Linked DNA regions of Homo sapiens: region 2 is linked to region 1. The links are contacts of gene promoters, found by promoter capture Hi-C in human tissues and cell types (Jung and others, 2019). All regions are on one chromosome and are shown on one strand. Each heading gives the region's core, a stretch centred on a gene start or on the middle of the fragment in contact. The rest is flanking DNA. Distances are from core to core; before and after follow the strand shown.

Region 1 (6,744 bases), core at 151-2,650:
TGCTAACATATTCTCACAATGCTTTGGGTTATTTTTTTTTCCTTCCTTCCTTCTTTTTTTCTCCCTTCTTTTCTCCCTCCCTCATTCCCTCTCTTCCTTCCATCCCTCTTTCTTTTTTTATTTCTGATGCAATAGAGATGAAGCTAATGTTCCCTTTAACTACACAACTTATCCCCATAACAGAAACAACAACTAAAACCAATTTGGTATGTATCATTCCAAACAATTTCCCCCTGTACTTTTACATATTTATATATATCCATAAACAATATATATTTTTGTGTGTTTTAACTTACATAAATGATATATTGTTTTAACTTACATAAATGATATATTGTTTTTCCCTTTGTATTTTGCTTATTGTTTTAGAGATATATCTGCATGATATTCATCAGTTTATTCTTTTAATTGCTTTCCTAAGCACCAGAAAAAAAATAACTTTATAAATGCAATAGAAAAATGATCCCAATTATACTAGCAATGAAAATTACTAGCATTACTAGGAATAAAACTAATAAAAATGCAATTCAGTTACATAAAAATTATAAAACTTGACAATTCTTCTCAAATTGATATATACATTCAATGCAATTTCAATCCAGACATATTTTTCCAAGGCATTTGTTTGCTTTACATTCAGACACCCCTCTCCACTCTGCTACTTTTCTATGATTTGAAAGCACAAGCAAGCAAGCAAGCAATTTATTTATTTTTTTAGAGACAGGGTCTCACTATGTTGCCCAAGCTGGAGTACAGTAGTTATACGCAGGTGTGATCTCACACAAAGCCCTGACTTCTGGGCGCAAGCAATCCTTCTGCCCCAGGCTCTTGAGTAGCTGGGACTACAGGCACCCACCAGCAACTTCTTTAGTCATATGAAAGTTTGCTCGCTGGCTTCTTTCCTTAAGAACAGCACCCAGGTGTCCTTCAGTTACCTGATAGAAGCCCTGTACCCAGCACAAGGACAGATCTTCCCAGATGCCTGGTATTATAAAGGATCTTCTCTTATCTACCTTCCCACTCTTGTAGGAGTTTTCACTCTCTCCTAAAGGCCTGCAGAGAATATGGCACGGTTTGCTCTCCTCAGCCAGAGCATGGGCAGCCACTAAGACACATGCATGTTTGTGGGCTCTGAGGAAATGCAAAGATTTAAAAAAAAATTTTACTTCTTGTGCTAGACCTCTGAAATTTTGGTCTTCCCTTTGCCTATCCTCTAAAGATATAAAAATGCCCCTGCCTACTCATGCCCTTCTTCCCCAAGGATGCTTGTAGCACATACCTTAGTGACAGCCTTTGTTCTGGAGGTTTCAGTGTTGCCAATTCCTTCTTCACAAAGTCTGTATCCTCATGTGAGTGCAGCTCAATGAGCAGCAGCCTCTCTGGAGGTATCCTCCCACTACAAACAGCAGATGGAGAGAAGGCAGTCTCTTGAGGGCTCCACCCTCACACCTAGTCACCTAAAGGGAGGCAATGAGGGTTAAATGAGATCGTAAGGCTGAGGCCCTAATTCAATAGGACTGGTGTCTCCTAGGTAGAGGAATACACACCAGAGCTCACTCTCTTGCCTCCAGGTGCTCAGAGGAAAGGCCATGTGAGGACACAGGGAGAAGGCAGCCATCTGCAAGTAAGGTAAATAGGCATCACCAGAAACCAGACTTGTGGGCACCTTGGTCTTCTAGCCTCCAGAACTGTGGGAAAACAAATTTCTGTTGTTTAAGCTACTCAGCCTGTAGTATTTTGTTATGGAAGTCCTAGCAGACTAATACAGGGGTTAATGGGAATTTTCTGTGTTGTCTACCTAGATTTTCTGTAAACTTAAAACCTCTAAAAAATAGTCTATTAAAATTTTTAATTGAAATCAGTATTAAAATGAAATCATAATTCCATTATTATTTTGAAGTTATACAATTTATACCAGGACTGGCTTTCCTCCATGGTATGTAGCATACACAAATGTGTGTGTATGTTGTATGCATGTACATATATTAACTCTTTCAACAGGAATGCCATTTGAAAATCACTTTAAGTCAGTTTCCCCTATCCCAGGAGAGTGAACATGAGTCCCAGAATTGTTGGGAGGAAATGACAGAAGTTCCAGAATCTCCTCATCTCCAACCCACTCATTCCTGGAGAAATGCAGTAGAAATATCTGCTGGATGCCAGGTACGGTGGCTCACATCTGTAATTCCAGCATTTTGGGAGGCTGAGGCAGGAGGATTGCTTGAGCCTAGGAGTTCAAGACCAGACTGGTCAACATAGCAAGACCCCATCTCATACGGTTTGGCTCTGTGTCCCTACCCAAATCTCATCTTGAATTATAATCCTCATAATCCCCATGTGTCAAGGGCGGGACCAGGTGGAGTTAATTGGATCATGGGGGCAGTTTCCCCCATGCTGTTCTCATGATAGTGAGTGAGTCTCAAGAGATCTGATCTGATGGTTTTATAAACACCTGGCATTTTCCCTGCTTGCACTCACTCCATCCTGCCGACCTGTGAAAAATGTGCCTGCTTCTCCTTTGCCTTCCACCATGATTATAAGTTTCTTGAGGCCTCCCCAGCAATGCAGAACTGTGAGTCAATTTAACCTCTTTCCTTTATAAATTATCCAATCTTGGTCTTTCTTTATAGCAGTGTGACAACGGACTAATGCATCATCTGTACAAATTTTTTAAATAAAATTAGCCAGGCATGGTGGCATGCACTTGTAGTCCCAGCTACTTGGGAAGCTAAAGTGGGAGGATCACTTGAGTCCAGCAGTTTGAGGTGAGCTATGATTGAGCCACTGACCTGTCTCTAAAGAAAAAATAAAAGGAAATATCTGCTGGTACCTGAATTCATACCTCGGCAAATTCCCCTCACCATCATTCATGTTTTGACGCAGTTTGGGGAAAACCCAGTTCCTTTATGAGAGTTTTGTATGTGATAAGCAAAGATCAATGGTGAGCCGATGGAGAACTCAGGGCCCTCAGGTATTACTAGTCCATGTCATGATGGTGGGAACTATGGGACCGCCTCATCAGTGAGGGCAGGTGTGGGGGAAGCCACCTTCCCCTCCAAAGCCCAGTTAAGCAAGGCCTGAGGGACTAAGGTGGAATTCCCCCCAAGCCCAGTTTCTAGTGCAAGCTGATCTAAACCCCAAACAGTCTCTATCTTCAGTTCCTGAGGATTCTTTTATCAGCTGCTCCTCCATACTTGGCACAGTGCTTAGTGCACAGCAACTTCTTAATAAATAGTTGAACAGAGAGAATGAGGCAAGGTGGAGATGTGGAGTCTGGTGAAGAGTTGGAGGAAAGGACTGAACAGCCAGAATGGAAGGATGCTCCTCTTTTTGTGTTTCCTGAGCCAGATCTGAGGGCTGGTGTGGGCCCCTGCAGGACTGGACACTTGCCTGCTGTCACCTGTGTATTTGTTTCCTGTGGCTGCTGTAACAAATTACCACCAACTTAGTGGCTTAGAGCAGCAGACGTGTATTCTCCCCCAGTTCTGGAGGCCAGATGGCTATAATCCAGCAGGGCTGCCTCCTTCTGGGTGCTTGAAGGGCGAATTGTTCCTTGCCACTTCTGGCTCTTGGTGGCTGCCCCAGCAAACCTGGGGCTTGTGGCCACATCACTTTAATCTCCACCATCTTCACATCTCCTTCTCCACTGTGTGTCTGCATCAGATCTCACCCACCTCTGATTTATGAGAACACTCATGATTGGATTTAGGATCCGTCCAGGTAATCCATGATAATCTCCCCATCTCAAAATCCTTGACTTAATCACATCTGCAGAAGCTCTTCTCCCAAGTAAAGTAACATTTACAAGTTCTAGGAATTAAGACTTCATCTCTTTGGTTGACCATTATTCAACCCACAACATCCTGACTCGGAAGACAGACAAACTGTGACATAGTTAACTGACAAGCCTTGGTTCCTCACCTTTGGGCCTACATCAGGGATTCAGGCATTCTATGGGAAGGCAGCAGAAACCAAACTACAAAACCAAAGTAGTGTGACCCCTCCAGAGCCAATGGCCTCTCCAAGTCTACCTTCTGCTGCACATTCAATGGGTTCTGAAAATGCTGGATCAGATCCATTGGGGACATCCCATCTAAATTCAATTCTACTGGGTCCCTCCAAAGGTTCAAAAGACTGTATTTCACTTCAGAGGGAAAAAGAGACTAGCAGCATATTTGACCTCCTTTCCTCCAAAATAAAGAGAAAGAAAAAACTGTATTTAAATAAACCCTAAGTGTAAATGTAGAAATTACTACTATCACAGATATTTGTCATAGAGTATTAGGGCAGAAAATGGCCTCAGGTCATACAGCTGATGTCTCTCTCCCTCTCTTTCTTTCAAAGTAGTAATATTTAAGTCCAGAGAGGCAAAGTGGCTCACCCAAAATCACACAGTAATTTGGTGGTAGAGCCAGAGCCAGAACTCAGGTCTTCCGAGGCACAGCTGAGGGTGCTTTTCTTACTGCACCACATTCAAAATTCTCGTGCAATAACATTATGAAGAGTTGTGGATAAGACTAGAGGAAGTCTTTCTGTATTTTCTATAGTTTTCAACTATATGTCAGTCCCTCAGTGATTTGTAGGGTAAAAATGCATTTGCTTAACGAAAAGTGTTAGACAAAGCCAGAGTTTAAGAAAAGCTCGTGTGTTATTAATAGTAAAGCCAGTTTTGCTGTCTATATAATTTAATTTCCCATATGGATTACAAAAAAGAGTAACAAGAAACAGATTTTCTTTTTTACTACTATTTATTTCCTTCATAAGAGTAATCATGACAATTGTCAGAATACAAAAAAAGGTATCATCATAATTTTGATTTGAAGGGTTGAATATGGAGAAATGTGGTTAATAACGTATTTTTAGTTGCATTTTCAGGAAATTCATATTACCTTGTGTGCCAGAATAATTGATTAGATCTCTTAGTGGTTTGTTTTGTTTTGTTTGAGACGGAGTTTTGCTCTTGTTGCCCAGGCTGGAGTACAATGGTGCAATCTTAGCTCACTGCAACCTCTGCCTCCTGGGTTCAAGTGATTCTCCTGTCTCAGCCTCCCTAGTAGCTGGGATTATAGGCGCCCGCCACTACACCTGGCTAATTTTTGGTATTTTTAGTAGAAACGGGGTTTTACCATGTTGGCCAGGCTGGTCTCTAACTCATGACCTCAGGTGATCCACCCGCCTCAGCCTCCCAAAGTGCTGGGATTACAGGCATGAACCACTGTGCCCGGCCTTTCTTTTTTTTTTTTTTTTTGAGACAGAGTCTTCCTCTGTGGCCCAGGCTGGACTGTAGCAGCATGATCTCAACTCACTGCAGCCTCCACCTCCCAGGTTCAAGAGACTCTCCTGCCTCAGCCTCCAGATTGGCTGGGACTACAGGTGCATGCCACCATGCCCGGCTAAATCTCTTAGCCTTTTGGTGGTGCTTTATTCCCAGAATTTATCTTCTACAAACATGCTCACCACCTTTTTCCAAGGCTACAAGCACTGAAGTGCCTAGCATATTCTCAGAACTGCTTTTGCCATTAGAAGGGATAAAAAAATGAAATTTATGATTTCCTCACTTAAGGAGCTTAGCAATCATGGCACTTTCATCACAGGAGTCCCAGGAGGTGATGGTTCTCTGAAGAATGATGAATAATGAAAGGAAAAAGTATCACTGTGAAAACCATGTAGAAACCCAGAGAAATCTTTATGATTAAGGTGGCATGTATACTATGACTGTCTCTTTGCGAAGCATGGATGAGTGTGGGTACATCCAGAATGAAATAGGCAGAAATTAAAACAATCTTATATTAGGTTATTTCTTTTTATTCTTAAAATTCTCTTTAATAAAGGCACGCTGTCATTTCAATTACAAGTTTTTAGGAAATAGAAAATTGCTATCAAGCACTAATTCAAAGCAAACACATTTTCATGTTGTGAATGATTTATTGATTAAATTGGAGATCAATTTAATAAGCCACACTTGTAATTCTCTCCCATTGACTTGCAAAAAGCACCTGCATTGCCAAAAGTGGTACACAAAGGAAGCCTGAGTTTATCATTATGAAGTTGGGGAGAAAAAAAAAATATGAGGCCAAAGTAGTGTGAGTCCTCCAGAACCAATGGCCTCTCCAAGTCTATCTTATGTTCAGTACCTGGGCCACATGAAAAACTCTTAAGGGGAAACTAGGAAGAGTTCGCCTCTGCCCAGGAAAAATGCTCACAAGTTAAGGGTAAACGTAGAATGTCAAGATACTTCTCTTCTTCACTCCTGATAATATTTACCCTGTTCCTCTGCATAGAAGAGGGGTTTGTGAAATACTGTTTTATTCCCTCTTTTCTTCTCCATCTTGTTACAAGGCCAAATGCATTCATTACTGTGACAGAGGAATACATGAAGGGCTTCAGGAGCAAAAGGGACTCTTGATTCTTCCTGGGTCTTCAGGGTAAGAATGTGGAGGAGATCAGGGAGCTGGCCTTAAAGAATGGGTGTGCCTTCCAGCCGGGAGTGAAGCATTAAGAAAAGCATTTCTTGGAGTCTCCAGAGCCTTGTCCCAACTGGGCTACCACATTGCTCTGGAAACCTGGGAAAGCCACTAAACCTTTCTGAGTTTTAGTCCAGTGCTACTTTAATGTGTACCCAAATCACCTGGGACTCCTGTTAAGCAGCAGATTATGACTTAGCAGTTCTGAGCCTTGAGATTCTGCACGTCTAACAAGCTCCCAGGTGATGTTAGTGTGGCTGGTCACATTTTGACAAGGCAT
Region 2 (6,891 bases), core at 1,396-3,895, 210 kb after region 1:
AATTTGAGGTATAATACGTTACTACTATATAGACACCTCAGACATATATATGTACACATGAGCATACCAATGGGTTTAAAAACACACACATACACAAAGGGAATCAAATTTCACATACACCATTCTACAATCTGCTTTTTTTTTTTTTTTGAGACGGAGTTTCGCTCTTTTGCCCAGGCTGGAGTGAAGTGGCACGATCTTGGCTCACTGCAACCTCCGCCCCTCAGGTTCAAGCAATTCTCCTGCCTCAGCCTCCTGAGTAGCTGGGATTACAGGCATGGCCACCACGCCCGGCTAATTTTTGTATTTTTAGTAGAAACGGGGTTTTGCCATGTTGGCCAGGCTGGTCTCTAACTCCTGACCTCAGGTGATCCACTCACCTTAGCCTCCCAAAGTGCTAGGATTACAGGCATGAGCCACTGCGCCTGGCCACAATCTGCTTTTTAAAATTTGTATATGATAGTCATATTTTCCCATCTCTTCATACAAATCTACCCCATTTTCTTTGATGACAACACAATGTTTTACTGTGGATGTAACAATTTATTGCCCTACTAATTATTTAACTATTGCCCTACTGAAGGACATCTAATTTCACATTTACTTTATTTTTGGTATTTAAATACTACAATGCTATGATGAACATTTACATAAGTTCAAATTCCTGAGGGAGAGCTGATGGGTCATAGAGCACATATATTTAAAATACTGATAGATAAGGTCAACTTGCCCTCAAAGATACTTGAACTTATATTACTATCAAGAATTTAAAATATCCTTTCTTCATAACCTCAAACGTGCTGTAATTTTTGCCAGTCTGAAACATGAAAAGTAACTAGTTTTCATTTAACACCTTTTTTAACTATTAGGGAGAATGAACACCTGTTCATATTTCCAATATAGCCTTTTCCTTTCTACTGTGAATATTCTGTTCACAGCCTGCCTGGTTTTTTTGGGGGGGGTGATTTTTTTTCTCTTTATGTTTTATTAACCCTTTGTTGCAAGTGTTTTCTATTAGTTTGCCATTTATCCTTTAACTATTTTTACAGTACCTTGTCATGTAGTAATTTTAAGCTTTTATGTAGTCAAATAGGTAAAATATTCTCCTTTGCAGCTTCTATTTTTTTTTTCCATGTAGAGCCACAAAGCCAAACTTTGCAGCTTCCAAGTTTGGAGTTAGGCTTAGAATCCCCAGGGAAACCCATGTTTCATTTAATTTTTATGTTTAATACTTAATTCATCTGAAATTTAAGTATGGTGTAAGATGAGAACTTACCTTTTTTTCTTTTTCATAATGGATAGCAGGGTATCCAACTAGGAGTTGGTGAACAACCTATTAGTTTGAAATAAGGCCTGTTACATCCCATTTATCTATTTGCTTATCCCAGTCAGTGCTGGCCTCAAAGGGACTTAATTACTGTAGTTTTGTGATATGTTTTGATGTTGGGAGGACAAATCTCATCTGTTTGAAGCAAGCTATTCTACTTGCACAGGTATTTCTTTGCTACTTTGGTATATTTATTCTTGACTGTCTTCCTCATCACCATCTTAGTTTTCAGTTATATCCATCCCACTATTAGGCCCATTTATGAAATTTTTTACCTTACAATAATATTTTTTATTTTTGGCAACTCTTTTTTGTTCCTGTACCTTTTTCACAGTAGCATGTTCTTTACTTATTGACATAATAGCCTCTCCAAACACTGAAGGTGTTTTGGGAGGAAAAGTCTTTTCTGTACTAGCCTTAACTCTGCTCCTCAGAGGGCTACTGCTTTGCATGTTCCACTCGGCCAACCTTTCAGACTGCTAGCAGATTTATAAAGGAAGGGCAGCAACTAGGCACATTTTACACACTGTTAAGGTCACTGATTTTGTCAGACTGGGCAGAAAATATGGTGACTCCAGGACATACAGGTGGGCTCAGCTTGGACTGGGAGAGTGGGACAGACATCCTGACCAGTGGACTTTCCTCTGGCTAACCACTGGGACTCTGCCCCTTGAAGGAGGAAGTAGGGAAGGACTCAACCTGGTGGAAGAACATTCTAGGGAATTTTGCTTTTGTGCTGAGCAGCCAAGTCCTTTTGTCCTTCATGTCCCTGGTTATGGTGGGAAATCATCCAGAGCAGTGCTCCTCTCCCTCCTGCCCCAACACCCAATACACACCTCCTGGATTCTAGCCTCTGGCCAAGGCATGATTCCAGTAATCCTCCTATTATCGCTCTCACTGCCCCGTGGCATGCTTTCACACTCAGCCTCTGGTGACCCTGAGCTCGTCTTTTTTAGTTTTTGTTTTTCCTGGAACTCTTTGGGGAAAGCTGGTCTACTAAATTCTTTAGCTAACCCATCTCTGCCTATGTTTGCTTATGGGTTTCTAGATCTGCTTCGAATTCCCATGTATTTGACACCATTTGCCTTCCATCTTCTAGAAATGTGAAATTCTTCAAAGTTTCTGGTCCACGCTGCTATGTACTCTTTTTTTTTTTTTTCTTTCTTTTTTTGAGGTGGAGTCTCACTCTGTGGCCCAGGCTGCAGTGCAGTGGTGTCATCTCGGCTCATATCAACCTCCATCTCCCGGGTTCAAGTGATTCTCCGGCCTCAGCGTCCCAAATAGCTGGGATTACAGGTGTCCTCCACCACACCTGGCTAATTTTTGTGTGTTTTTAGTAGAGATGGGGTTTCATCATGTTGGCCAGGCTGGTCTCGAATTCCTGACCTCAAATGACCTGCCCACCTCAGCCTCCCAAAGTATTGGGATTACAGGCGTGAGCCATCACGCCTGGCTCATTACCTTTTAAAGATATCTTTCATTATTTTCATGGGATTTGGGGACAGAGGGAAAGCATGGATTTGAGGGGGTCAGCCTGACATGTTGAACCAGAAGTCAAGATAAACTACTCTGATAAATGTGCTATGCAGATGAGGAGCCTGGAGTTTAGAAAGGAGAAGTGACTTGGCCCCAAACACATAGCCCCTCAGAGCCAGGGCAAGAGTCGGCCTGCCTTGAGCACTGGACCACACAACTTCCTCAACCCAAACCAAATACTGCCACTTCAGAGTTCACCACAGACCATGGAATAGGGGGCTTTAAAAAATGCGTAAAATGGAAATGGCACTGTAGAAAGTTCATTTGGCATTTATAGAAAAGATTTTTAAAGTCACCTGGACAGACAGGGAAATATATAATTCTCAGAGCTACTCTTTTTGGTGGTTTTTCAGCTCAGAGCCCTGAAGGAGGGTCTACAGAGGTGAATCTAGAGGCTCTGCATGTGGGGACTGGTGGTGAGTAGAACTGCCTCCAACCCCGGCCTGGGCAGCCTGAGAAGAGGCAGGGCCCACTGAGTATAAGGTTCAGCCTGTCAGTCTTCTGGGGCAGTCAGTGTAGACAGACATTGGAGGTCTGGTGGAGATCAGAGTGACTCTGATCATACCTCTGAGCATTGCTGTGCCTCTTACATCTATACTTGTGGATTCCCAGAAAGATACCCCATCATACATTGTACCCCAAAATTCACATACCCTTCAAGGAGAATGCTTTCCAGCACCTCTCTTCTGGACCCATGGAAGCTGCCCGGTTTGGCTCCCGACACCCATCCCTGAGCCCTGCCACACCTGCATATACCTGTCAAACCAGCCATGCCATCCTTGTCCAGTTTCATGGCTTCTGAATACCACAGCAAGGCCTCTTTCACTTGGTTCTTCAGGATGAAGAGATAGCCCAGTTCTGTGGCCACATGGACATACGAGGGGGTGGCCATGAAGGTGCGCTCGATGAAACTACACACTAGCCCTAGAATCACCTGGTGACTCCCACACTGCAAGAAACAGGAAGGTGGGAATTGGGAAACCAGTCAGTCCAGCCTGTATGAGCAAGGTCATGTCAGAAACGGGGGACACTTTGGTAGGCAGGGCTGGTAGGCCCAGGAGAGCCAAGAGGTACCGTGTGTCTAGGCAGCTGGGTCTGTGTTGCTGTCTGGCTCCCAAGGAACCTCTCACTGGCCACAACTGTGGAACCTGCCTCTAGCCACAGGGTCCTCTGAGGGACCTATCCCCTGTCTGGTCACAGTAATTGGTCTAAGGAGTCACCAAGAGGTTTTTCAAAAATTGAAGCTGAATGTGTCCAGTAATAAGAAGTGGCCCCAAAGGCTGCCATCAGCCATGTTCCCTGCCATGTGTGGAGAACAAGGCAGAGAGAATCAGACATACAGAGGGAGAGATGGTGCCTATGCAACTCCACAGTTCTGGTTCCTGGGGTCCCAGAGTTGCCTTCATTCTTACAGCAACTACTTCTAGTAAATCTTGCTTTGGGGCTGAAGGGTCTGAAAGAGATACAGATTTGTTGGCAACCTGGTCTAGTTGAACCTTCCCTGATGTTTGAGAGGCCTAGGCAGGCCAGCCTTCTCAGGTCACCTCCACAAAAAAGAATATGGGAGATGGGCACCCAGGCACTAGAGGCTAGAGCTGGGTGTGGCTCTGCTGCATAACAGCTGCAATACCACCCGCTTTCCCCAAATAAGGCACAGCCCACTCCAAAAGCACTTTCAGACCCCGTCTCCCTGATCTTCATGGCATCTCTGAGGGGGCACCTAGGCTAAGGATGTAGAACCCACATGTCACAGTTATCAGCCAGAGGCAAGTAGGCACAGCAGGATATGAGCCACTACCCTAAAGGACAAGTTTGAGCCAGAAGGGAGGGGTAAGGCACTCAAGGAGCTTCCTGGGGGAGCACAGTTCTCCTCTAAGGAAAGCAGGGAGAAGCACCATTTCAGAACCAGGAAAGAACCTTCTTACCAGTCGGCTAACCACAATAATTTTTTTAAGATGGAGGCTTGGATTTTCGGGTTCCCTTGTCTCTAGTGCCTTAATCAGATTTCTAACGTGATTGGTAGCCTGCAGGGACAAAACAGAGAATGTCAACATGCAAGGTGCAAGGTCAGAGTTGCGCCGTGGTTCTCAACCCTGACTGCATAGTAGCATCAGCTGGGAGATTTAAAAAATGCCCATGCCCAGGCACAACCCCCCAGAAATTCAGATTTAAGTGAATTGGAGTGGTCCAGGCATCAGAATTACTTCAAAGGCCTATAAGTGGAACTCCTGGGGACATTATTCACCCAGAGCTGGCACTGCCCCTCTGTTCTTGAATTTGTTTTTTTTTTTTCTTTTTTTTCTTTTTTTTTTTTGACTGCTCCTTATGGAGCAGGGCTAACCCATAGAGTAGCCCTGTTCCTGAGTTTGTGAAGAGAAGTTGCCTTTTCAGACCCACCCAGGCAGAGCCAGGAGCTAGCCCTCACTGTGTCCACAGTGCAGCCTGCCAGGCCAGCAGCAAACTAACTAGTGCTGGCCCAGAAGCCTCTGCTCCATTTTGACATGAATCAAATGTAAGTCAGTATAACTATTCGAACTTTCCAAACCTTCCTGTCCAACACATGAAAGGTTAGAAAGGTTAGGCAATTGGTCTGAGGTCACCCAGCCACCTAGGTCACTGACAGATTCCAAAGCTTAGGTTCTTTCCCACTCCCCACCCAGGAGTAAGGAATTCTTAGTTCCCAGCTGCAGAGAAGTGCCAAAAGCAAAACCAAGGATGGTATGGGTCCACTCTGTTCAGTAAGTATGAACAAAATTAGAACTGGGTAGCCAGCCCGGGGTCGGTGGGGAGGTCCCAAGGTTTGAAGTGGGAGTAAAAAAGGGGCTAATGCTAAATCTCAGTTAGCTAAATGCTAAGTCTGCCCCTGGGATTAACTTTCAGGCCAGGCCCCAGGAAGGCCTGCTTAGGGATCTGGAGTCACAGGGAGCTGAGGATAGTCCTATTCTCTTATTCCTACCCAGAGACGAAAAGGGCTGGGGCCTTTTTCTCCCAAATACGGACTCTCCCCTCTACCTCACCCCATCCCACAAAATCCACAATCTCAGAGCTGTGCAGAAGAAACCAGAAGCTTCCCCTTCCCACCATGACCCCTTAGAGACTCCTGGTTTGCCATGCTCTCCATAGAGGCAATATATTTCACTGATCTAAAAGGCAATGCTTTGGCTAAAAACAAACCTTTCTGAAAATGAGAACCTGTCTGGGTATTGAGGTTTCACTAAGAATTCTAGGTGTTTCTGACTGCATTTGAGGGCTATTTTTGGTTTCTTTGGAAAACTACAAGACTTACGAGCATGTTTGGGGCCCAGTATTACCTGGCCAATGCCTGAGCAGTTCCAACTATCCCCTAAAAAAAAGGCATTTCCTGAATTCAGAAATACTACCACGACTTCTACTATCAGTTAACATTGATGGAATTACTGTAGTGTGCCAGGGACTGTTCCAAACTCTCCCACTTCTTATCACATTTAGTCCTGTGTGGAATTCTGTCTATTTTACAAACAGGAAGCCTGCGGCTTATCCAGGTGGGGACACCTGCCCAGGCTTCCACAGATAGCACATGGCAGAGCCTAGAATCAATCTCACTGCCTGATGCTGCCTGACTCCCAAGCTACACAACTCAAAGAGTCAAACCAGAGCAGGCCTCCTTGGCAGCGAGTATAGGGGTGGGGTAGAAAAGAGGAAGCTGAGATCCAGGAGCTCCCTACAAGGGCTTTGGGTCAGGTGCACAGGTCATGAAGGGTTCCTCCTTGATTCTGTTTCAAGGATCACCTTCTGAGTCTTCAAAGAACTTACTGTGGTCATGTTTCCTTCTCTTGCAAGCTCATGCACGGTTAGAATTTGGCAGGCATCAATATTGCTCTCATCTTTTTCTAGGATTCTGAAGGAAGAAGAGGAGGCACATGAATTGAGAGTATTGATAGGCAAAGCTGGGATGGTGTGTTGGCGACTTCTGATTGTCTTTGAATATCCATTCTCCCCTCTTCTTTTAATAATAGAACTCCCAAATTAGCCAGGCACAAGCTGCTCAG

What was found. The method cuts DNA at HindIII sites, captures the fragments that hold promoters and counts their contacts. A contact is called where the count stands out against the background at its distance.
Region 2: a fragment that was not itself captured here is called in contact with the fragment with the promoter of CCR8 in region 1 in 1 of the 25 tissues and cell types used here (H1 embryonic stem cells).

Annotation. Positions count from the first base shown.
Region 1 is chr3:39,324,365-39,331,108 of GRCh38, reverse strand. CCR8 (C-C motif chemokine receptor 8) reads right to left here and starts at 1,400. Exons shown (of 2, transcript NM_005201.4): 1 at 1,280-1,400. RefSeq lists enhancers at 2,729-2,818, 3,169-3,258. The HindIII fragment of the contact is 13,900 bases long and covers 1-6,744 here.
Region 2 is chr3:39,117,918-39,124,808 of GRCh38, reverse strand. It overlaps TTC21A (tetratricopeptide repeat domain 21A), which reads right to left. Exons shown (of 29, transcript NM_001366900.1): 7 at 6,656-6,740; 8 at 4,789-4,887; 9 at 3,620-3,812. Among named protein-coding and RNA genes, the nearest start is that of TTC21A, 14 kb to the right of the region's middle. RefSeq lists a silencer at 1,799-1,858. The HindIII fragment of the contact is 6,136 bases long and covers 1-5,713 here.